Regions from separate parts of the Homo sapiens genome. Here all the other regions are linked to region 2. Evidence: promoter capture Hi-C in 16 types of primary human blood cells and fetal thymus (Javierre and others, 2016). All regions are on one chromosome and are shown on one strand. The core of a region is centred on a gene start or on the middle of the fragment in contact, and the rest is flanking DNA. Distances in the headings are between cores, read along the strand shown. Region 1 overlaps ZC3HC1 (zinc finger C3HC-type containing 1). Region 2 holds the start of MESTIT1 (MEST intronic transcript 1, antisense RNA). Region 3 overlaps KLHDC10 (kelch domain containing 10). Region 4 holds the start of LINC03008 (long intergenic non-protein coding RNA 3008). Region 5 overlaps TMEM209 (transmembrane protein 209). Region 6 overlaps KLHDC10 (kelch domain containing 10). Region 7 holds the start of LOC105375509 (a long non-coding RNA gene).

Evidence for each region. The method cuts DNA at HindIII sites, captures the fragments that hold promoters and counts their contacts. A CHiCAGO score of 5 or more calls a contact.
Region 1: a contact is called between a fragment that was not itself captured here and the fragment with the promoter of MESTIT1 in region 2, in 1 of 17 cell types (megakaryocytes). The highest score is 5.5, in megakaryocytes.
Region 3: a contact is called between a fragment that was not itself captured here and the fragment with the promoter of MESTIT1 in region 2, in 4 of 17 cell types (megakaryocytes, erythroblasts, fetal thymus and 1 more). The highest score is 10.2, in megakaryocytes.
Region 4: a fragment that was not itself captured here is called in contact with the fragment with the promoter of MESTIT1 in region 2 in 1 of 17 cell types (megakaryocytes); the score reaches 5.1 in megakaryocytes.
Region 5: a fragment that was not itself captured here is called in contact with the fragment with the promoter of MESTIT1 in region 2 in 1 of 17 cell types (megakaryocytes); the score reaches 7.3 in megakaryocytes.
Region 6: a fragment that was not itself captured here is called in contact with the fragment with the promoter of MESTIT1 in region 2 in 1 of 17 cell types (megakaryocytes); the score reaches 5.0 in megakaryocytes.
Region 7: a fragment that was not itself captured here is called in contact with the fragment with the promoter of MESTIT1 in region 2 in 2 of 17 cell types (endothelial precursors and total B cells); the score reaches 5.6 in endothelial precursors.

What each region holds. Positions count from the first base shown.
Region 1 is chr7:130,048,321-130,051,358 of GRCh38, reverse strand. ZC3HC1 (zinc finger C3HC-type containing 1) reads left to right here. Exons shown (of 10, transcript NM_016478.5): 1 at 1-138; 2 at 2,215-2,326. Among named protein-coding and RNA genes, the nearest start is that of ZC3HC1, 1.5 kb to the left of the region's middle. RefSeq lists enhancers at 1-231, 1-651. The HindIII fragment of the contact is 1,631 bases long and covers 474-2,104 here.
Region 2 is chr7:130,489,691-130,492,553 of GRCh38, reverse strand. MESTIT1 (MEST intronic transcript 1, antisense RNA) reads left to right here and starts at 1,577. Exons shown (of 2, transcript NR_004382.2): 1 at 1,577-1,712; 2 at 2,587-2,863. It overlaps MEST (mesoderm specific transcript), which reads right to left and starts at 469. Exons shown (of 12, transcript NM_002402.4): 1 at 215-469. The coding sequence starts at 240. RefSeq lists a silencer at 1,432-1,641. The HindIII fragment of the contact is 7,997 bases long and covers 1,002-2,863 here.
Region 3 is chr7:130,075,430-130,078,316 of GRCh38, reverse strand. All of the region lies in intron 1 of KLHDC10 (kelch domain containing 10), which reads right to left. Among named protein-coding and RNA genes, the nearest start is that of KLHDC10, 6.3 kb to the right of the region's middle. The HindIII fragment of the contact is 5,502 bases long and covers 1-2,887 here.
Region 4 is chr7:130,139,420-130,142,554 of GRCh38, reverse strand. It overlaps LINC03008 (long intergenic non-protein coding RNA 3008), which reads right to left and starts at 824. Exons shown (of 2, transcript NR_149034.1): 1 at 783-824; 2 at 1-296. RefSeq lists enhancers at 263-926, 1,115-1,254, 1,435-1,514, 927-1,590. The HindIII fragment of the contact is 784 bases long and covers 1,239-2,022 here.
Region 5 is chr7:130,166,454-130,169,189 of GRCh38, reverse strand. TMEM209 (transmembrane protein 209) reads left to right here. Exons shown (of 15, transcript NM_032842.4): 15 at 2,685-2,736. Among named protein-coding and RNA genes, the nearest start is that of LINC03008, 26 kb to the right of the region's middle. The HindIII fragment of the contact is 377 bases long and covers 1,269-1,645 here.
Region 6 is chr7:130,103,961-130,106,980 of GRCh38, reverse strand. The region is part of intron 2 of KLHDC10 (kelch domain containing 10); the gene reads right to left. Among named protein-coding and RNA genes, the nearest start is that of KLHDC10, 35 kb to the right of the region's middle. The HindIII fragment of the contact is 1,716 bases long and covers 584-2,299 here.
Region 7 is chr7:130,831,087-130,833,954 of GRCh38, reverse strand. All of the region lies in intron 3 of LOC105375508 (a long non-coding RNA gene), which reads right to left. LOC105375509 (a long non-coding RNA gene) reads left to right here and starts at 1,217. Exons shown (of 3, transcript XR_007060528.1): 1 at 1,217-1,287; 2 at 1,370-1,434. The HindIII fragment of the contact is 2,474 bases long and covers 59-2,532 here.

The DNA.
Region 1 (3,038 bases), core at 40-2,539, 440 kb after region 2:
GCCCTGTGAGGGACAAGCGTTTGCCGTAGGGGTTGAAAAGAATTGGGGTGCAGTAGTTCGCTCCCCAGAAGGGACCCCCCAGAAAATCCGGCAGCTGATAGATGAGGGGATTGCCCCGGAAGAGGGAGGCGTGGACGCGTGAGTTCACGAGTTAACCCTGGGTCCGGCGTTGGAAGATTGAAGAAGGCTTGGGGAAGGGGTGGCGGGTTGGGGGAGGTTCCCCTCGGTCGGCGACTCGGGCAGTGGGGATGGCTTCTTAGAATCTGAAAGAAACTCTGGTTACTATGTTTGATCGGCTTTGATCTTCCCCTCGGGGTGTACCAGATTCCCAACCGCAGCCGAAATTTTGTCATCGGACATTATTTTTGGAAGTAAAGAGGACCGTTAACTGAATGAGTTCACTTGACTTCTCTTAATTGGGGATTCTTAACCTTTTTTTGTGCCGTGGACCCCTTTGGCTCTCTGGAGAAGCTTATTAACTCTCAGAATATTTTTAAATGCTTAAAGTAAATTACATAGGATTATAAAGGAAACCAGTTAGATTGGAATGTAGTTATCAAGATGGTAAAAGGAAAAAGTTACGCAGTAACAATGCTTTTTATTAAAGAGTCCATAATATCTAGTAGTATGTGTTGTCAACCATAATTTTGAAGTAGTGATGAGCACAAAGGTATTTGAAGACATGCAACCACCATAATGTGGGAACATTATTTCCATTGGTGACAAATTAGCAGGTACTGCTAATACTACTATGGTGTTTTTACCTTCATTCATAATTGAAGAAAATGCTAAATCTTGTCATTTAGAGAGAAATAAATGTCATTTTTACCCATCCAAGTTTATGGATGCTGTGAATTTTTTTTGGCCTAGAACCACACCCGCTTGAGGCTCTCTATGAATCTCTGAGAGTCTTAGAGTAAGTTTATTTCTTTTGAGCTATAATCGTTGATGTAATCCTATTTTTATTAAAATAATGCCTGTCGCCGGGCGCGGTGGCTCACGCCTATAATCCCAGCACTTTGAGGAGGCTGAAGCGGGCAGATCACGAGGTCAGGAGATCAAGACCATCCTGGCTAACACGGTGAAACCCCATCTCTACTAAAAATACAAAAAATTAGCCGGGCGTGGTGGCCCGCGCCTGTAGTCCCAGCTACTCGGGAGGCTGAGGCAGGAGAATTGGTTGAACCTGGGAGGCGGAGGTTGCAGTGAGCCGAGATCGCGTCACTGCACTCCAGCCTGAGTGACAGAGTGAGACTCCGTCTCTAAATAAATAAATAAATGCTTGTCTTTCAGCAATTCCCCAGGCACTGTTGAAATGCCTTCCACTGAAAATGAGAGAATTGCTTTGCTGAGTTTTTTTCTCCCTGATTTTTTTTTCATGAAATCTCCCGAAGATCTTTGATTCGAATTTTCTAATTGGTTCTTTTTTTTTTGGAAGGAGTGGGTATGAAAGGTCCCTCCAGGTAGAAATATCAAAATTGTTTTTTCTGCTGTTAAGAGTCGAATTTCTGCCAGGCGCTGTGGCTCACGCCTGTAATCCCAGCACTTTGGGAGGCTGAGGTGGGCCAATCACAAAGTCAGGAGTTACAGACCAGCCTGACCAACATGGTGAAACCCCGTCTGTCCTAAAGATACAAAAAATTAGCCGGGCCCACGCCTGGTGGTACGCGCCTGTAATCCCAGCTACTGGGGAGGCCGAGGCAGGAGAATTGCTTGAACCTGGGAGGTGGAGGTTGCAGTGAGCCGAGATCGCACCGTTGCACTCCAGCCTGGGCAACAGAGCGAGACTCCATCTCAAAAAAAAAAAAAGTCGAATTTCTGAAGAGATTCAAATTGTATAATGCATACTTGAAGTCTTGAGTCTTATTTTCTGTCTACTAAAGTTATGCCAAATACTTGTGGAGAACAGTGAGTGAGTGAGGAGAATAGTTTGCTAGGATTAGTGGAGCCCTGTAGAGGTAGAAATTGAAGTTTAGATATGGGTAAACTGTAAAGAGTTTTGAATGCCAGACTGAAAAATTTGGATTTTATTTAGTAAGTATTATAAAACCATTGAAAATAATAAGCTGAGGAATGACATGAGTAAAATGATTTTTAGGAAGCTTAAAATCCAGCGTTGGTGTGATTTATGATACGATGTGTAGAGAAGCTAGATAACATTTAAGCAGAGGGTACTGTGAAAGGTTTACCAACAGTTTTGCCACTTTATATTAGGAAGGACACGTCTGCCACATCCCAGTCAGTTAATGGATCACCCCAAGCGGAACAACCTTCATTGGAATCTACAAGCAAAGAAGCCTTCTTTAGCAGAGTGGAAACATTTTCTATATCCTTTTTTAGTTCATGTGAATTGCACTTTCTGCCTGCTTCTAGAATTCCTCCAAGGTATTACACCACTTACTGTGATGCTTTAAACTTAAGAATAAAACCTTGGTAAGAAATTATATAGGAAAGTCAGCATCCTAATATGTTATCACTCAGAGGGACAGTTGAGGTTATCTAACCTTTTCTTTTTACAGAAGAAAAAACTAAGAGCCTGAGAAAAGAAGAAATAATAACTAATACTTGTATATAGTATGTTTTTGTATATATTATCACATTCGATCTTGACCTTAAACCTATGAAAATAAGCATTATTATTATACTTGTTTTACAGAAGAGGAAACAGTTTGGGGCAGGTTATATGACTTGCCCAAGATGAACCTGTTAGCAAATGGCAGATCCAGGATTATAATCTAATGTTTTTTAGATTATTAGAGACTACACTACTATAATGTCTCTTTCTAGATTTTCCTTTGTGTATTAGCTACCTATTGCTGCATAGCAAATTGCCCCAAAACTTAGTGATCTTAAAACAACAAACAGTTTTTATTTCATAATTTCTGTGGATCAGGAATCCAGGCATGGCTTAGCTGAGTCCTCTGGCTCAGGGTCTCTCACAGACTGCAATTAAGGTTGGTCAGGGCACTGTCATTTCAAGGCTCAACTAGGAAAATTGTCTCAAAAGAAAAATAAAATAAAATAAAACAAAACAAAAC
Region 2 (2,863 bases), core at 328-2,827:
CCAAGGAGGTCCCGCGTTCTGAACATTCCATTGCGGGCAGGAGTGACACCCCCTCCTCAAGTAGGCAGAGCGGGCGCGGAATGCGTGCCGCCTGTCGGTAGAGTTTTCGCCCAGAGGCAGCCCCAGCTCGGACACGGGCACACAGTCCTCCGCTCGCCTGCGCCCTAGTCCCAGGGCCGCCAGCCACACCCCCTCGTTCCCACCGCACACTCACCTGCGGAGGCGATCTCGGCGCACCATGGCCGCGTTATCCCATGCCGCCCGCCGCAGCGTTGCAGAGCACCGGGCGCCGCAGAGCCCGCAGCCGTGCAGAGCTGGCCAGCAGCGGGGGCGCAGCCCGCAGCCCACAGCCCGCGCAGGGCGGCGCCGCGCCGGGCAGCTACAGCCACTCCGGCGTGCGCTGCGGCACTGCGCTTGCGAGGCGCAGCTGCCGCAGAGGAGGTGCCGGGGTGTGCTGGTTGCCGCGGCAGCGCGGAGCGAGTGGGCACCGACTTTTAGAGCCCACCCGCGCCCCGCCCCTAGCCCGCCCATCGCCGCAGAACCCCTACCGCCTGCTCCCTTGCTCGCCGCAGAGCCCCTCCCAGCCGCTCTACCACCGCCATGGCCACAAAGATGGGGTGCCCCTCTAACAGTGGCTCCTTTAGGGGGCACCTTCAGGGGTGTCGAGCCCCCTCCCCAAGACCCCGCTGCTCCCTCGTTAACCGCCAACCCTGAGCCCGAGATTCTGCTGCAGAAACCCTCCCCTGATGAGTTAAGGCCACGGGCAAAAACAGCAGACCCCTGAGTGCCCCAACTCTTTCCTTAGACCACCCACAAACCCCACAGGCCGCCCACAAACCCCACAGGCTGCCCACAAGCCCCACAGGAGGATGGCCGCTCGAACTAAGGGGCAGCAGGGCTCTGGGGTGCCGGCCGTGGCGCCTGCTCCCATCCCTCGTTCGAAGCGTGGGTACTGAACCGTGAGAGGTGGCGAGCCACGAGGGCCCTATGCGCCCTAAGCTTAACTACCGGTAACCACCAAGGGCACGAGCAAGCGGCTAGGGAGCAACAAGCTCTGTTGGACCCACCACCAAGCTAGTAAACAGATTCATGGGATGGCCACTATGGCCAAAGTTGCACAAAGTCCGGTTTCTCCCGCTCCAGCCACCGCCGCTGCGCGGGGCAGGTTTCCTTTACAGCAGCGCGACGTGGTCAGCATGCCAGACGCCTGGCCACAGCAGCGCCCTCGCAGCCCCGCTCGCTGCATGCGCCGGTCCGCGCTGCACAGAACAGTGGGCACAATTAGGAGAGCAAAGCCCCCTTTATTTACGTAAGATAGAATCACAATGCAAGGGCCCAGAGGCACAAGAAAGAGGGAGGAATTTTTCTAATCCATAATCCTTTAAAAGGCATCCCTTACGCCTTTGAAAAGTGTAGAGTATCACGAAGTGTCTGTGTTCATTTTCTGACCGTAAACTGAAATACTGGTGAACAAACGTGGGGTGCGAGCGGGTGAGCGGGGCGGCCGGCCGGTGCCCGCTGCATCCAGAGGGGGCGCTGCAGGCCTCCCTTCGGCTGCGCACGGCCCGGGCCCTCCGCGGCTCTGCAACTCTGCACCCCGAAAGGTTCGGTGCTGGACCGCGGGGCATCCAACCCGGGACCGGGGGCGACCCACGGACACTGAGGAAACTACCGCCTATAAGCCTATCATCAGAACCTCTGGCACAACACAGGTACACTTCTGCAGGGGTCTGGTTGCCCCCAGAAAAAGCACTCATGAAACAAATGCTGATTTAGCACCTACAGGGCACTAAGAACCGGGGGTGCGAAATAAATGAGAAATAGCCCCGGCCCGAAAACAACACACGGGCCATCTGGAGGGGAAGACAGACAAGAACTGCCACTTTGTAAAATTTTCCTTTTAATTTCCTAGCGACGTTTGTGGCAGTTGACCCACTCCTCCCTAACGTGTAAGGCCCTCAGAGGCAGAGCCCAAGTATTATTCACCTTTTGTAGCCCCAGAGCCCGCCACGGTGCCGGCCACAAAGCTGGCCCCTAATAAATACTGCTTGAATGAGTACAAGAATTTGAGGGCGCACAGGGGAGGAAGTAATTAAGGGGAGGGGCGAAGGGTGGTCTTGAATGATGAATAGACATTTACCAGAGAGACAAAGAACATTCCAGCCGGAGGGGACGGCTTTCGCAAAGCACCGGAGGCTCAGGGCCGCGTGTTTGGGGAAAACGGTTAGTCCTTTGAGCCGGCAAAAAATTAGGATAGCAAGAGAATTTCATCGTAGGGAATTAGGAATTTGTTCTAGAGAAAATGAGAAGCCACAGATGGATTTAAACTCTTTATGGCCTTAATTGGTTACTTAACAAAATTTAAATTAGTCTCTTTACAAGTCAAAGATTACCTATTTTAACTACCACTACCTTTTAAAGACTGAATTACTCTGCAAAATCTAAATCGGTTCTTCCAAAAAGGTAAAGGCTTTCCTATTTTAATAATAACAATAACAAAAGCCTTTGCATTATATATTTTTCATATTTATTGTTAATGGAAACTTTGAGTCCTACAAACAAATTCCACACTTTCATTCTCACCAGGCCAGAAACACCAGCATCCAAGATGAAGGCAATTTTCTGTTTATGGACTGAGTACCCCACAAAAGATCTTATTCTGAAGGCCATGGAACATGTCTACCCACATGGATCAAGTGGGCAGACTGGAGGAGAAACAGTTTAAAGGCCCTGGGGGAAGGAGGGAGCGCCAGGGAGAGCTCCTGAAGACAACAGGAATTCCAAGTCTGGCACTCGGGAGAAATCCTCCCTTCAGACATTATTGATGTCTGGCCGAGGAGTTAGGAAAAACTTCCTTGAAGGA
Region 3 (2,887 bases), core at 119-2,618, 410 kb after region 2:
CTGCAACCTCCGCCTCCAGGGTTCAAGCGATTCTCCTGCCTCAGCCTCCTGAGCAGCTGGGACTATAGGCATGCACTACCACATCCGGCTAATTTTTTTGTGTGTGTTTTCAGTAGAGACGGGGTTTCACCATATTGGCCAAGCTGGTCTCAAACTCCTGCCCTCAAGTGATCCGCCCGCCTCAGCCTCCTAAAGTGCTGGGATTACAGGCATGAGCCAACACGCCAGGCCTATTTAAAAAAAAAGAAAAAAAAATGAAAAGGAGAAGATAAAATTATCATTATTCAGTAATGATATGATTATTTAGCTATACCTGTTATTCTCTAGAAAAACAACTGGGAAACTATTATAGATAATATTAGAATTCTTAACGTGGCTAGGTATAAAATTAATACTCAAAATTTAATAGCATTCTCATATTCAAACAACCACATAAAAGTTATAAAAGAAAGTAGAAACCCCGGCCGGGCGCGGTGGCTCTCGTCTGTAATCTCAGCACTTTGGGAGGCCGAGGCCGGTGGATCACGAGGTCAGGAGATCGAGACCATCCTGGCTAACATGGTGAAACCCCATCTCTACTAAAACTACAAAAAATTAGCTGGGCGTGGTAGCAGGTGCCTGTAGTCCCAGCTACTTGGGAGGCTGAGGCAGGAGAATGGCGTGAACCCGGGAGGCGGAGCTTGCAGTGAGCCAAGATGGTGCCACTGCACTCCAGCCTGGGCGACAGAGCAAGACTCCGTCTCAAAAAAAAAAAAAAAAAAGAAAGAAAAAGAAAAAAGAAAGTAGTAGAAACCCCATTTACAATAGCAACAAACAAGATAAACACCAAGGAATAAACATAATAAGAAATGTGAGGCCTATATAAAAAAATAAACAACTTTTTAATGTTGATAGATACAAAACAATACTTGAATGACAATAAATACATATACTGTTTTTTTTTTTTTTTTTTTTTTTTTTTTTGAGACAGAGTCTTGTTCAGTCACCCAGGCTGGAGTGCAGTGGCACAATCTTGGCTCACTGCAACCTCTGCCTCCCAGGTTCAACAATTCTCCTGCCTCAGCCTCCCGAGTAGCTGGGATTACAGGCACCTGCCACCAAGAACGGCTAAGTTTTATATTTTTAGCAGAGATGGGGTTTCCCCATGTTGGTCAGACTGGTCTCAAGCTCCTGGCCTCAAGTGATCCGCCTGCCTCAGCATCCCAAAGTGTTGGGATTAAAGGCGTGAGCCCCCATGCCTGGCCACATATACTGTTCTTGAACATAAAGAAATGAATATAGACCCTGTTTTTGAACCTCAAAACGATGTCAATTATCTCTAAATTAATCTATAAATATAATACAATACCAATAAAAATGCCAACAGGACAGAGGAGCAGGACTTGGTTAGCTAATTCTAAGCCATATAGAAAAATAAACAAAGAAAACTTCCCAGGAAAACTCTGGGAAGTAGAATGAGGGAAGATGATAACCAAGGAATAGAGTCATTAGGTATAAATAGGTAATCTGATCAATGAAACAGAATAAAAGTCCAGTAATAACCTCAAACTGTAGGAACTAAGTACACCTATAGACAACATTTCAATCAGCAGGGCAAAGCTGAACTAAATGAAGGACACTGCCATAACTGGGCAGCCATCTGGAAGAAAAGTATAGTTGGATTCCCACCTCGACACTTTATTTAACTTACATTTTGTGTGGGTAAGTGCATTTAACTTAAAAATAAAATTACAGAAGTACCTGGAGAAAACACAAGAATATTTAATTTGAATTAGAAATAATAATAAAATAGGAAAGGCCTTTCTTATGACACAAAACCTAGACTCTGAAAAGACTGATAAATTTCACAACAAAACATTTAAAACATTTAATTTCTGATGAAAAAATAGACCATAAACAAAGTCAAAACGCAAATGAAAAACTGTGAAAAATATCTGCAACGTGTCAATGGCTAAGAACTGATTTCATTAAAATACAGAGTTCCTATAAACCAGGGGTCCGCAAGCCCCAGGCCATGGACCCCTGGTACCGGTCCATGGCCTGTTAGGAACCTGGCCACATAGCAGGAGGTGAGTGGTGGGCGAGTGAGCATTCCCGCCAGAGCTTGGCCTCCTGTCAGATCAAGCATTAGATTCTCATAGGAGTGCTAACTCTACGGTGAACTGTGCATGCAAGGGATCTAGGCTGTGCACTCCTTTTGAGTCTCTAGTGCCTGATGACCTGAGGTGGAACAGTTTCATCCTGAAACCATTCCCCCCACTCCTCCACCCCACCATCCCGGTCCATGGAAAAATTGTCTTCCACGAAACTGGTCCCTGGTGCCAAAAAGGTTGGGTACCGCCTTTATAAACAATATGAACCATCCCAATAGAAAAATGAACAAAAAATATAAACAGATCTATAGATAAAGGAAACAAATAAATGGCTCTTTTATCTACCTATTGGAAAGACACTTAAGAAAACTATTCCTATTAAACTGACAATTTAAATAACGTTTGATAACCCACTCCGTTACCAAAAGAACAAGGAAGACAGCACTCGAACAACAACAGGGAAACATAAACTTGAAATTTGACAGAATCTATCAAAATTTAAGCAGTAAACATAAATCCTTTGACCCAGAAACTGTACTTCTACAAATTTATCCTAAAGAAAGACTCTCTCATGTGCAAAAGTTATATATGTATAGGGCTATTCATTGTATCACTATTTGTATTAGCAAGATTGTAAACATCTTAAATACCCATCCAAACAAAGGAATGCTACCATCTCCACAAAGTCCCTCCCGTCCCCCCTGAACCTGGAAAAAATATACAGGAAATGTATCATTGGTTGCTTCTAGGGAAGGCAGTCAATTAGCTGGGGTCAAAGGAAGAAGAAAAACTTG
Region 4 (3,135 bases), core at 381-2,880, 350 kb after region 2:
CTTCACCTTGCTCCAGAGGAAAGACCCAGAGTATGGCAGGGCTGCGGTTAGCGAGGGCTTTGGTCAGCAGCTGGAGAGTGCCGTAGTGACATGGTGACAGTCCTCGGCCCCCAGGAGGGGCGGAGGCCACCCCTCTGGGACCCCCAGCCCTAGAATCCCATGCAGGAGTGACTCTGCTGTCCCATCACACTCACAGCTGCAGCAAGGATGCCTTTCCAGCAGTCACACTCCCACGCAGGGGTCAGCCTTCCTCCCAGGGGGAGCAGGGTGGAGCGGGAGCTGGTCCTCCCAGCATACTGCAGGCGGACAACAGTGGCCTGTTTCAGGTGACACCTGTCTTTGGGCCCAGGTCCCACTTCTGTGGTTGTCCCCAGGCTGAGCTGCCCCCTGGAAGGGTTTTCTGGAAAGGACCAGAGAGGTGTGGATTTCGGAATCTCTGAGAGCTCTGGCACCTCTGTTTTCTGCTCCCTGGGTTGAGTGGCCAGAAGAGCCTGTGTGCTTGCATTTTCGGTATGACCCCTGGCCCTTATGTGTCTCTGTGTCCCCAGGCCCCTGCTCAATTCTCCACTTCACCGAGGGTGCCTGACCCCTCTCCTTTTCCCTCCATCCCCCCACTTCTGAACGCACCCCACCGTGTGCATGGGAGGGTCCTTCCTCCCTGTGGCTTTTCCGGGGAGCCTTTTCTTCTCCCTGAAGTCACCCCCGCATATCCCGGAGAGCCACAGCGCCTATCCCCTGGGTTGCCATGGAAACAGCCTTCTTTCCTCTTCCCTCCTGTTTACCTTGGTCAGGGACTGCGGCAAAAACCAGCCCGTCGCTGGAGGAGAGGGAGAGCAGTGGGCGGGGGAGCAGGGAGGGAGCCAACCCGCTCCAAACCAGATCATTCCGGTTCAGAGCGGCTTCCCCTCCGGTCCTAGGAGCCTCTCCGACAAGGCGCGCTGGGCTGCGCAGGGAGGCCCTGGGCCGAGCTGGCCTTAGTGGGGAGGGCCTGAGCCCACCCTGGCCAGCACCCCCTCCCCAGTTCCGTCCGGCCTCCATGCGTCCCTCCTGCCAGTGCTGGCGCAGCGGGGCCTGGGGCGCTGTCCCTGATTGCTGGCTGTTCCCCGCACAGGGGCGCCCTGCTGGGGCGGGGGTGATGGGAGCAGAAGTGTCTCGGCCCCAAAGGTGCTTTCGCCCTCCTGGGACCCCCGGGCACTCTCCTGCGACAGGGATGCTCTGTGTGGCTCTGGCTTAAAGCTTCCCGCTGCGTTTAGAGAAGCCAAACCCTTCGTCCCAGCCCCGGGATAGGTGCGGGGCCGCCTCTTCGCGGGGATTCCCCTGGCTCCCACCGCAAGGCTTCTTCCCCTTGCAGAAGACACCAGAAGCTGGGTTTTGTCCCTGCCCCGAACACTCTGGTCACACTTTCTAGCTCCCCGTGCACACCGGGCGGGAGGCTTTCCTTGTTTCTACGCCACACAGCTCCTATTCCCCCTCCATGGGCCACTGTGGTCATCTTGCTCGTTTGCTGTGGTCTGATCGATCGCCTCCTCCCCAATGGAAACTTCCCGAAGGCAGGGCCCGCTCACGCAGCACCCCAGCACCAATGGCACGTGCCAGATGTTCGGTGAGCGACGGTGGCCTCGAGGATGGGACGCGCGGCGGCGCCGGGCTGCGGGGGCCACCTCCCGGCCGAGTCCCCTCCCCGCTAGCGGGCGGCAGCTTCTTAGTCGTCTGGGTGTACAGACTGAAATCCACGGCTCTTCCTCCCCAGCCATGTGCGCTGCAGGCGGCAAGTCCATGGCCAGCGGGCGGGTAGCCCAGCGCACCGGGCCTTGGGGAGCCGCCCGCAGCACGGACCGCCCTGGCCCCTGGCTTCACCGCCCCTGCGCGGCTGCTCCCAACCCAGAATCCCGGGAAGCCAGGGGTGACTTCACGTCCCCGAAAGCCCTTCTGAAAGAATTTTCTCAGTAACTATCCAGGCCCATGTGCCTGCCGCCGGGTCCCAGGAGGATGAAAGTTCTCATGAACGCGACCTTGCAAGCTTGCAGACTTGGACTCCCTTCTCTGGCCCTTGGCAAATCACTGAATTTGTCTTGTCTTGGCCTGCCAATCTGTGAAACGGGGATAAAACTTCTAGGCCTGCGATTCAATACAGGCTTGCCGAGGAGAAAATGAACTGAAAATGCTTGGCTGACATGGCAGGGGCTGCAGAGGCTGGGCTCTGGGTTAGTGTGTGTGTTTGGGGTCCGGGGTTAGATCCAGTGTAAAGCTGGAGTTCTCGTCCTGGATGCCCTAGTATGCAAGTAGCTCTGAGACACCCCTGTGCCTATTGTTCTTATAAACCGCGTCTTTGTGGGCAGCAAGCCTGTGCAGTGCAGGGTGAGCCCAGGCAGAGGCCGACATCCCGAACCATGACCTGATCTTAGCTGTTTCAGGGTGAGGTTTGGGTAGTAAATAACCCAGGTGCAGGAGATGCCTGGATGGCCTGGATGTATTTTTCTGGGGCTGGGAGAGTAACAAAGTTTGCTCCCTGACAGTGGGGTGGGGATTTTGAACACATCCTAGGCAGTCATGGTGAGAGCCTCCTCCACTCCCAGAACCTTGCGGTTCTAAGTGGCAGGTTCAAGGAGGATAAACTGACCAGTCTGACTCCTCTAAGGTGACACAGGCTGCATGGCAGCTGCTTTCTCTTTTCATGGATGTCATCTGCAATACTCTAAAGCTCCTGGCCTGCTGTGGGGCCCCCAAATAGTAAGTGGCCAGAGCTCCCAGCTGTCTCTGCCTTCTCTTCCCAAGTCCTGGAGCTGGGCTGTGGTGGCTCCTGACCTCCCTGAGTGGTGTTTGGCACCTACCTTCCTGCATGGGCTGCTGAGCTCCCCTGCTGAGCTGTCTGCTGGAGAATCTGAGAAGCCTCTTGCTTTTGCATTTGAGGCTGCAAGGCCAGTGTAGGGTGAGCAGATTGGCTGGGTTGGCTTTGTATGTCACTCAAAACTACCTCCTCTCACCTGGCTGTGGATGAAAGAAAAAACCTCTGCTCTACAATAATGTTCTTGCTTGATTTTATGAATGGACAGGATGGTAAGGAATAGGCTTTGGGCAACAGGATAAAATCACAGCTAAGCCAGGTGTGGTGGTACATGCCTGTGGTCCAAGCTA
Region 5 (2,736 bases), core at 208-2,707, 320 kb after region 2:
GGAGTCTCGCTCTGTCACCTAGGCCGGAGTACAGTGGCACCATCTCAGCTCACTGCAACCTCTGCCTCCCAAGTAGCTGGAACTACAGATGCCCGCCACCATGCCGGGTATTTTTGGTAGAGACGGGGTTTCTCCATGTTGGCCAGGCTGGTCTCAAACTCCTGATCTCAGGTGATCCGCCTGCCCGGCCTCCCAAAGTGCTGTAATTACAGGTGTGAGCCACCACACCCAGCTATTAGCTTCTTTTATCATATATTTTTTAATGTAAGAAAGATTAGGAAACTAACTTTATTGAGGCATCTAAACTAACAGGGTTTTTTATTTTTAAATTATGAAAATAATGCATACTCAGTAGATAAGTATTTAAATAACACAGCAGTGTATAAACTAGAACTAATTTCTAATTATGTGTAGAGACAGTATCTCACTATATTGCCCAGGCTGTGATCTACCTGCCTTGGCCTTCTAACGTGCTGGGATTACAGGCATAAGCCACTCCACCTGGCTTTATTTTTGTTTCTTTTGCTTAAAAATGTATTGTATCCAAACATAGTACTTTATGATCTAATTTTTAGGCTTATGGCATATCTTGGACATTCTCCCATGTCAAATTTTCCCTAAAATGTCTAGGAATGTTTGGTTATAAATATACTTACACATATATATTAGATGGAATATGGAATTTGATATAAATTCCATATTGTTATTATTCCATGTTGTTAATACAGGTCAAGTATTCTTTATCTGAAATGCTTGGAACCAGGAGTGTTTCGGATTTGATTTTCTCCGATTTTGGAATATTTGCAATAATTACTGAGCATCCCTAATCTAAAAATCCCCCAAATGCTACAGTGAGCATTTCCTTTGAGCATCATGATGTCACTCAAAAAGTTTTGGGTTTTGGAGCATTTCGGATTTTCAGATTATAGGTGCTTAACCTGTATAATATAAATAAGCAATTAATTTTTGGTTCTAATTGAAAATGTATCTTTTCCTCTGTGGATCCAAATTGATATTTTGATGCATAAATGGTTTGTCATGATAGCATGAGGTTTGAGTGCCATATACGGTCTGTCATATGCTTTAAAATGAAAAAGTGCTTAGTGGAGCAGCACTTTTTCATTTACTGAAATGTAATGAAATTTACTGAAAGGCCAAAAGAAATTGATACAATTTTTAAAGCGCTATATTCTCTTAATGAGCAACTTATATATGGGAAATTAAGCATTTTAGACTAAAACTAGTGTTTTTAAACTCGGGGAAAAGCTTGGAAATTATTAACCTTTCGAACATGAATATTTTTTCAAATACATCCTAAAACAAATAGTTAAAAACTTTCCTATAACTTAAAAGAAATAAGTGAGTGGCTCAAATATAGTCCATTTGGATTTATGACCATAAACCCACAGATTGATCCAAATACATTATCAATTTAATGTCAGGTATTTGTGCAGTAACAGGAATCAGATGAATGTTCTACTTGCAAAAGGAAAAAAAATCTAGACAGACTTGACTGCACAGTGACTTACATGTTCTGTTTGGGAAAAGACACTGTAAAGTTTAAAGTTAATGACAAACTGAAAGCATTATTCTGCTATAATATGAGCAGTAGTAATTGGGTTTGCAAATATAGCAAATCCAAGCTTATATTTGTTATATATAAAGAACATATATGATTTTATTAGAAAAATGGACAAAGGTATGAAAGATTTCTTCATAAAGTGTGCAAACAGCTCCTAAACACAAAAAGATGCTTAGACTCATGTACAAACAAGTCAAAATTAACTTTTTTTTCTGTCAAATTTGATATTATTTGTAGTGTCAGTGAGGGTATGAAGAAATGGAAAATACAGTTGATAAAAATTACCTGTTTCGAAAGGCATTTTTGGCAGCTTTTTATCAAAGTTAATACATTCTTATAATTTTAAAAGTCATAGAGGGCTAAAAGTTCATGACAGAAATGAGCAATTCCCTGTATTCCCCAAGTCTGCTTCTCGAAGTGGACTGTATTCCCCAAGTGGCTTTTTCTTCAGTTATTACTCTCATAGTTCCAAATAATAGAGGTATACAGCTCTCTTGATTCTTCAGTTTCAGATATTATCTGTTGATTTTTTTATTTTGTTAGGTGAGTAATTTCTTTCTCTTATAGCCCTCTTATTCCCTCAGACTTTGAATACAGTCATACTACTCTCTGGAAGAGAAGTATATGTATTTTGTTGTTGTTGTTATATGTAGTAGGATTTAATGTATTACTAATACACATATGAAAACTCACTAAAGTATCCCCAGTAGTTAGTAAATTCCTAATTCAAATCAAGTAATACAGTTCTCTGAGAGGCTAGCATCTCCATATCTTCCATCTTTTAAATACAATTGATACTTTTACTTTAATCTTGCTTGTTAAAATTATTCTGTTAGCTATTACCTGGTGTAATAGTTCTTGTTTACTGAAAAACTGTCAACACTCCATAAATCTATTTATTCTAAATTTGGGTTTTAGGCATAGTTAAGAAAGTAATTACTGTTACTGGAATTCACCTGATAAACCATGTATAACATAATTCATTGCAGAATCACATTAAATATCAGTTAAACATGTATTATTCATAAAGTTTTTTGTTATTAGAAAAAGACCTTAAATGCTTGGCAACCAATTCTAATAAAAATTTTTTTTCTCTTTATAGGAGAGTTAATCTTGGTCTATCTGGTGTGAATATATTGTGGATCTTTGGCGAG
Region 6 (3,020 bases), core at 192-2,691, 390 kb after region 2:
ATTTATTTTTGAGACAGGGTCTTGCTCTATTGCCCAGGCTGGAACGTAGCAGTGTAATCACTGCTCACTGCAGCCTTGACCTCCCAGGTTCAAGCAATCCTCTCATCTCAGCCTCCCAAGTAGCTGGGACCACAGGTGTGTGCCACCACGCCCGGCTAATTTTTGAATTTTTTCTTAGAGACAGAGTGTTGCCCAGGCTGGTCTCCAACTCTTGGGCTCAAGAGATCCTCCCACCTCAGCCTCCCAAAGCGCTGGGATTACAGGCATGAGCCACTGTGCGCCCAACACAAAGTTTGTATTCAAATGTAACATACAGAAAAGCATATATGTCATAAGGGTACTGGATGCATTGTAACAAAATGAACACATTAAATATCAAATTTTATTAAATGTTTTATTTAATACAGCAAAGTCACAATTTTTCTTTAAGCCTATTAAAATAGTAAACTAAATACATTCCACAGATAAGGTCCATTTGATCTTGATTTCTTATTTAGATTTGTCCCTGCAATCTTATGTATTTTTTATTTACCGCTCTTTCTCGCTTTATTTTCCCACTTTTCTGATTTTATTGAAATAAGCTTTCTTTTTTCCCCTACAAAGATCTGTATCTTATTACCCCTAACACTTGCTGAAAAACAAACTTTTATTTTTTAACACTCTTCAGAAAGAACCACATCTGGAAAGACTCGCCTGTTAATGGTGGTTGAGTGAAGATGTGAGGCAGGATCTTTGCTTTTTAAATTTAACTCCTTTTATTGTTAAATATGGCATGCATTAGAATTTACATAAATATAAATGTACAGATTATTATTTATTTTATTTATTTATTTTGAGACGGAGTTTTGCTCTTGTTGCCCAGGCTGGAGTGCAACGGCGTGATCTTGGCTCACTGCCTCCGCCTCCCAGGTTCAAGCGATTCTCCTGTCTCAGTCTCCCGAGTAGCCAGGATTACAGGCATGCACCACCATGCCCAGCTAATTTTGTATTTTTAGTAGAGGTAGGATTTCACCATGTTGGTCAGGCTACTCTCAAACTCCTGAACTCAGGTGATCCACCCACCTTGGCTTCCCAAAGTGCTGGGATTACAGGCGTGAGCCACCGCGCCCGGCCTTAAATGTACAAATTATTAAAAAGAGAACACGTAACCACCATCCAGCTCAAGAAACACAATACTGCATAAAGTGCTTAATAAATTATTAAAATAGGAACATATAACCATCACCCAGGTCAAGAAACAGAATACAGCCAGCACCCAGAAACCCTTTGACTGCCCATCTTGATCACACCCTCCAACCTCCCTTCACTTCTAGAGTATCCTACTTCCTGATTTTTAGGGCAATCATAAAAATCTGTTGTCTTTTTATAGCTTTATTATACCTAGGTATGCATCTCTAAACAATACTGTTTATTTTGGCCTAGTTTTAAAGTGTATTTGAATAGAATAATATATGTAGAATAATATAGTATATTTTCTTTCTGGGCTCTTTTATTCACAATTATGTTTTTGAGATTCATCCCTGTTCTAGGGGAAAAGAAGTGGTCTGTTCATTTCCCTTGCCAAATATTATTTATTTGTATGAATATATGTCACAATTTATTTATCCAGTCTAAGTTGCGTGAAGAGGCATTTTGGGTTGTTTCAAATTTGTGGTTCTTAATGTTGCTACAAACATTTTTGCACATGTTGCAAGTGCACAGGGGCTCACATTTCTGTTGGCTATAAATGTAAACATGGAATTTCTGAATCTTAATGTATGTAAATCTTCACCTTCGTTTGGTAAAGCCAAAATGTTTTCAAAATGGTTGTACCACTTTACATATCCAAGGGCAGCATGTGAGAATTCCTGTTGTTCCATATCCTTGCCAATACTTGGTATTGCCACTGTCAGTCTTTTTAATGTAGCAATTCCTGTGAGTTTGTAGAGCTCTCGTGGTTTTACTATTCATTTCTCTCATTGCAATGAGGGTGAGCGCCTTTTCATGTTTATTGGCCATTTGAATTTTTCTTTTGGGAAATGCCTGCTGATATGGTTTGGATCTGTGTCCCCGCCCAAATCTCATGTTCAATTGTAATCCCCAGTGTTGGAGATGGGGCATGGTGGGAGGTGACTGGATCACGGGGACGAAGTTCTCATGAATGCTTTAGCACCATACCTCCTTGGTACTGTATAGTGATGAGTTCTCACAAGATCTGGTTGTTTAAAAGTGCATAGCACCTCCCCTCAACTCCTCTTGGTCCTGCTCCTGCCATGTAAGACACCTGCTCCCACTCTGCCTCTTGCCATGAGTAAAAGCTTTCTGAGGCCTCTCCAGAAGCAGATGCTACCATGCTTCCTATACAGCCTGCAGAACCGTGAGTCAATTAAACCTCTTCTTTATAAAGTACCCAGTCTCAGGTATTTATTTATACCAGTGCAAGAACAGATTAAGAACACCTGCTTAAGCCTCTTACATACATTCTCTCATTGAACTGTCTTTTTTGAAATTGATTTGTAGAAATGTTATATATGCTTGCAGTAAGGATCCTGACTTTTCCCCCTATGTATTTCTGTATTATTTGAATTTTTCTTTTAGTAAGTAGATAATACTACACCTGTAAATTTTAAAACAAAAAATTCTAGGACCTTTAGTACAACTCTCAATTTAATTTTAGTTACAGAATGTTATACAGTTGACCCTTGAACAAAATGAATTTGAACTGCACAAGTCTATTTATATGCAGATTTTCCTCTGCCTCTGCCACTCCTGAGACAGCAAGCCCAACTCCTCCTTTTCCTCTTCCTCCTCAGCTTTCTCAATGTAAAGACAGTAAGGATGAAGACCTTTATGATGATCCACTTCCACTTAATGAATGGTAAGTGTATTTTATTTTTCTTATAATTTTTTTTTTGAGATGGAGTCTTGCTCTGTTGCCCAGGCTGGAGTGCAGTAGCACGATCTTGGCTCACTGCAACCTCCGCCTCCTGGGTTTAAGCGATTCTCCTGCCTCCGCCTCCTGAGTAGCTGGGATTACAGAC
Region 7 (2,868 bases), core at 46-2,545, 340 kb before region 2:
GGTTGAGAAATTCAGTAAAAAATATTTCCAAATAACATGCAGAAGTTGTTTTTAAGCTTAAAAGCTCATATTTTAGCTACACCCACACAGATGATGTAGAAAACAGCTGAATTTCGGTGTATCTGAATGGTCCAGATTATGTTCCTTCTGAAAGAGACAGTTTTACGTACGATCATTTTTCATATGAAGCATATAAAAAGACACCCAGAAACTACCACGTATTTACCACATAGACAATGTCCATCTTTATCTGTAATTCAAAACCATGTAATTCCTTTTATGCAACAGACTGCAGTGTGTGAGAAGTATGTCAAGAGAAGAGTAAAAAAACAACCAGGAGCTGGGCGCAGTGGCTCATGCCTGTAATCTCAGCACTTTGGGAGGCCAAGGCGGGCGGATCACGAGGTCAGGAGATCGAGACCACCCTGGTTAACACGGTGAAACCCCGTCTCTACTAAAAATACAAAAAATGAGCTGGGCGTGGTGGCGGGCACCTGTAGTCCCAGCTACTCAGGAGGCTGAGGCAGGAGAATGGCGTAAACCTGGGAGGCGGAGCTTGCAGTGAGCCGAGATCGCGCCACTGCACTCCAGCCTGGGCGACAAAGCGAGACTCTGTCTCAACAACAACAAAAAAACAACCAGGAGTACATTCATTAAAAAAAAACTCAGCTGAGTGCGGTGGCTCAGGCCTGTAATCCCAGCACTTTGGGAGGATGAGGCAGCCAGATCACCTGTGGTCAGGAGTTTGAGACCAGCCTGACCAAAATGGTGAAATCCCCTCTCTACTAAAAATACAAAAATTAGCCAGGCGTGGTAGCACACGCCTATAGTCCCAGCTACTCGGGAGGCTGAGGAAGGAGAATCGCTTGAATCCAGGAAGCGGAGATTGCAGTCCGTCGAGATTGTGCCACTGTACTCCAGCCTGGGTGACAGAGCGAGACTCTGTCTCAAAATAAATTAATTAACTAAATAAAAGAAATTTAAAAAATTTTAAGTCAATGCTATTTTTATACACTAACAACAACAAAAAAATTAGACCACGGAATTTGTAAAAACCAGGTTGGCCTTACATTCTGTCACAATATGTGATGTCAGAAAATAAGAGAACATTGCCTAACAAGTTTTTTTCCTTTAAAATTATGCTATTTATTTGACATGATATATAAACTCAAAGCATTTTATCAAGTTACTTCCTGCTCCCCCATAAATAGAATAACTCTGGTTAATTTGGTCAGCCCAAATACAGTTTAACAAGTTTTGAGGGGAAATGTTTGTCATCTGTGTAAGGTTGTGCTGGTTTTCATGGTGAAATTGTGGTGTTCCTTCATTGTGGCTATTTTCCAGTAAAAATTATGATGTTGTATTTCAGCTACCTGTAAGAAGAATCAAGATAAAGAATTCATGAATGATAAAAACACTTTGAAAAGACTGGTGGTAAGTATCAAATGATTCAAAAACAAGTAATTTTAAGATACCTTTAAGTGTACTTACAAAACATACCTTTTGGGCATGTGTACAAAATATAATTTTTAGAGTAACAAATGTACAAAAATAACAGGTAGGGCATAACAAAGTCGGAGGGTAGAAGATAATTTTATCAAATATAATTCTGTGTTTCATTCATTAGGCATTAATTACTGACAAGTTTATTTTTAGCTTTTTATTGAAATATAATACGCACATATAAAGTGTAGAGCTCATTGAATTTTCACAAAATGAATACGCGTACTTGAAAAAACCGCAGAGATCAAGAAACAAAAAACATGATTCACATCTGAGGAAGATAAATATATTTTTGAAAATTAAAAGTTCCACTAGAACAAAATTAAAAAAAAAAATACCCCACCAAAACTGTAACATTAATGAAACTGCAATTCTCTTAAGTCAACAGCAGAGGGTGCCCTTGAACTGTGAAATATAGTCTGCCAACTAAAATCTTTACCCTTGCCAGATATTGCTGGTCCAGGAAAAAGATGGGACATTTCCAGATGAATGGGAAAGGGTAGACAACATCCAAATGAAGTCTCTGTATAAAGGGAATGTAAAATAAAAATCAAACACCTCAACTAATAAAAATTCCCTTTCACAAAATGAAGAAGAAACTGATGGACGCTACCAACCTGAATGTAACATTTTTTACCATTTGCAGATCTGAAAGAAACACCTAGAATGATACATTAAAAAACCCAGAACAGGAACAGACAAAACAAAACAAAAAAAAAACAGCAAACAAAACCCCAGGAAGAAATAAAATGAGAGTCTTGCAGTAATAGTGGAAGAGCTGCTTTGGGCCAATTCTCTTGCAAATAATGACCATCATTCCATTCCAAATATAAAAACGAACTACTTGATGGCCCTGGAGAACAACCAAAAGGAAGCAGAAAGGGAGAGAGGATTGGCACTTGGCAGAAGATAAGAATAGCACTGTGTAAACTTTCCATGTTAATGGCTTTTAGCCTGAGCGCAGGCAGCCCACAGTTCTCCTCAGAGAGTTTACTAAATCTTGGGTAGAAACCCACAGCCTTAGAAGCTTAAGGAATCAAAAGACAGGGTTTGAGGCAACCATGATGGATATAAAGATGGAGGCAGTTACGTGTTGAATGGTGTCCCCCCAACATTCATATGCTGAAGTCCCAACCTGCAGCACCTCAGGATGTGACCTTACTTGGAAATAAGGTCATGCAGATATAGTTAGTTGAGACGAGACCATACTGGGCTAGAGTGGTCCCTAATCCAATATGACTAATGTCCTTTGGGGAAACCTGGACACAGACATGCACACAGTGAGAATGACATGTGAAGACTGGAAGGTGACTGCAAGAACACATGTTCAAATGTTTCTAAACATCAAAACAAAATGTTTAAAGA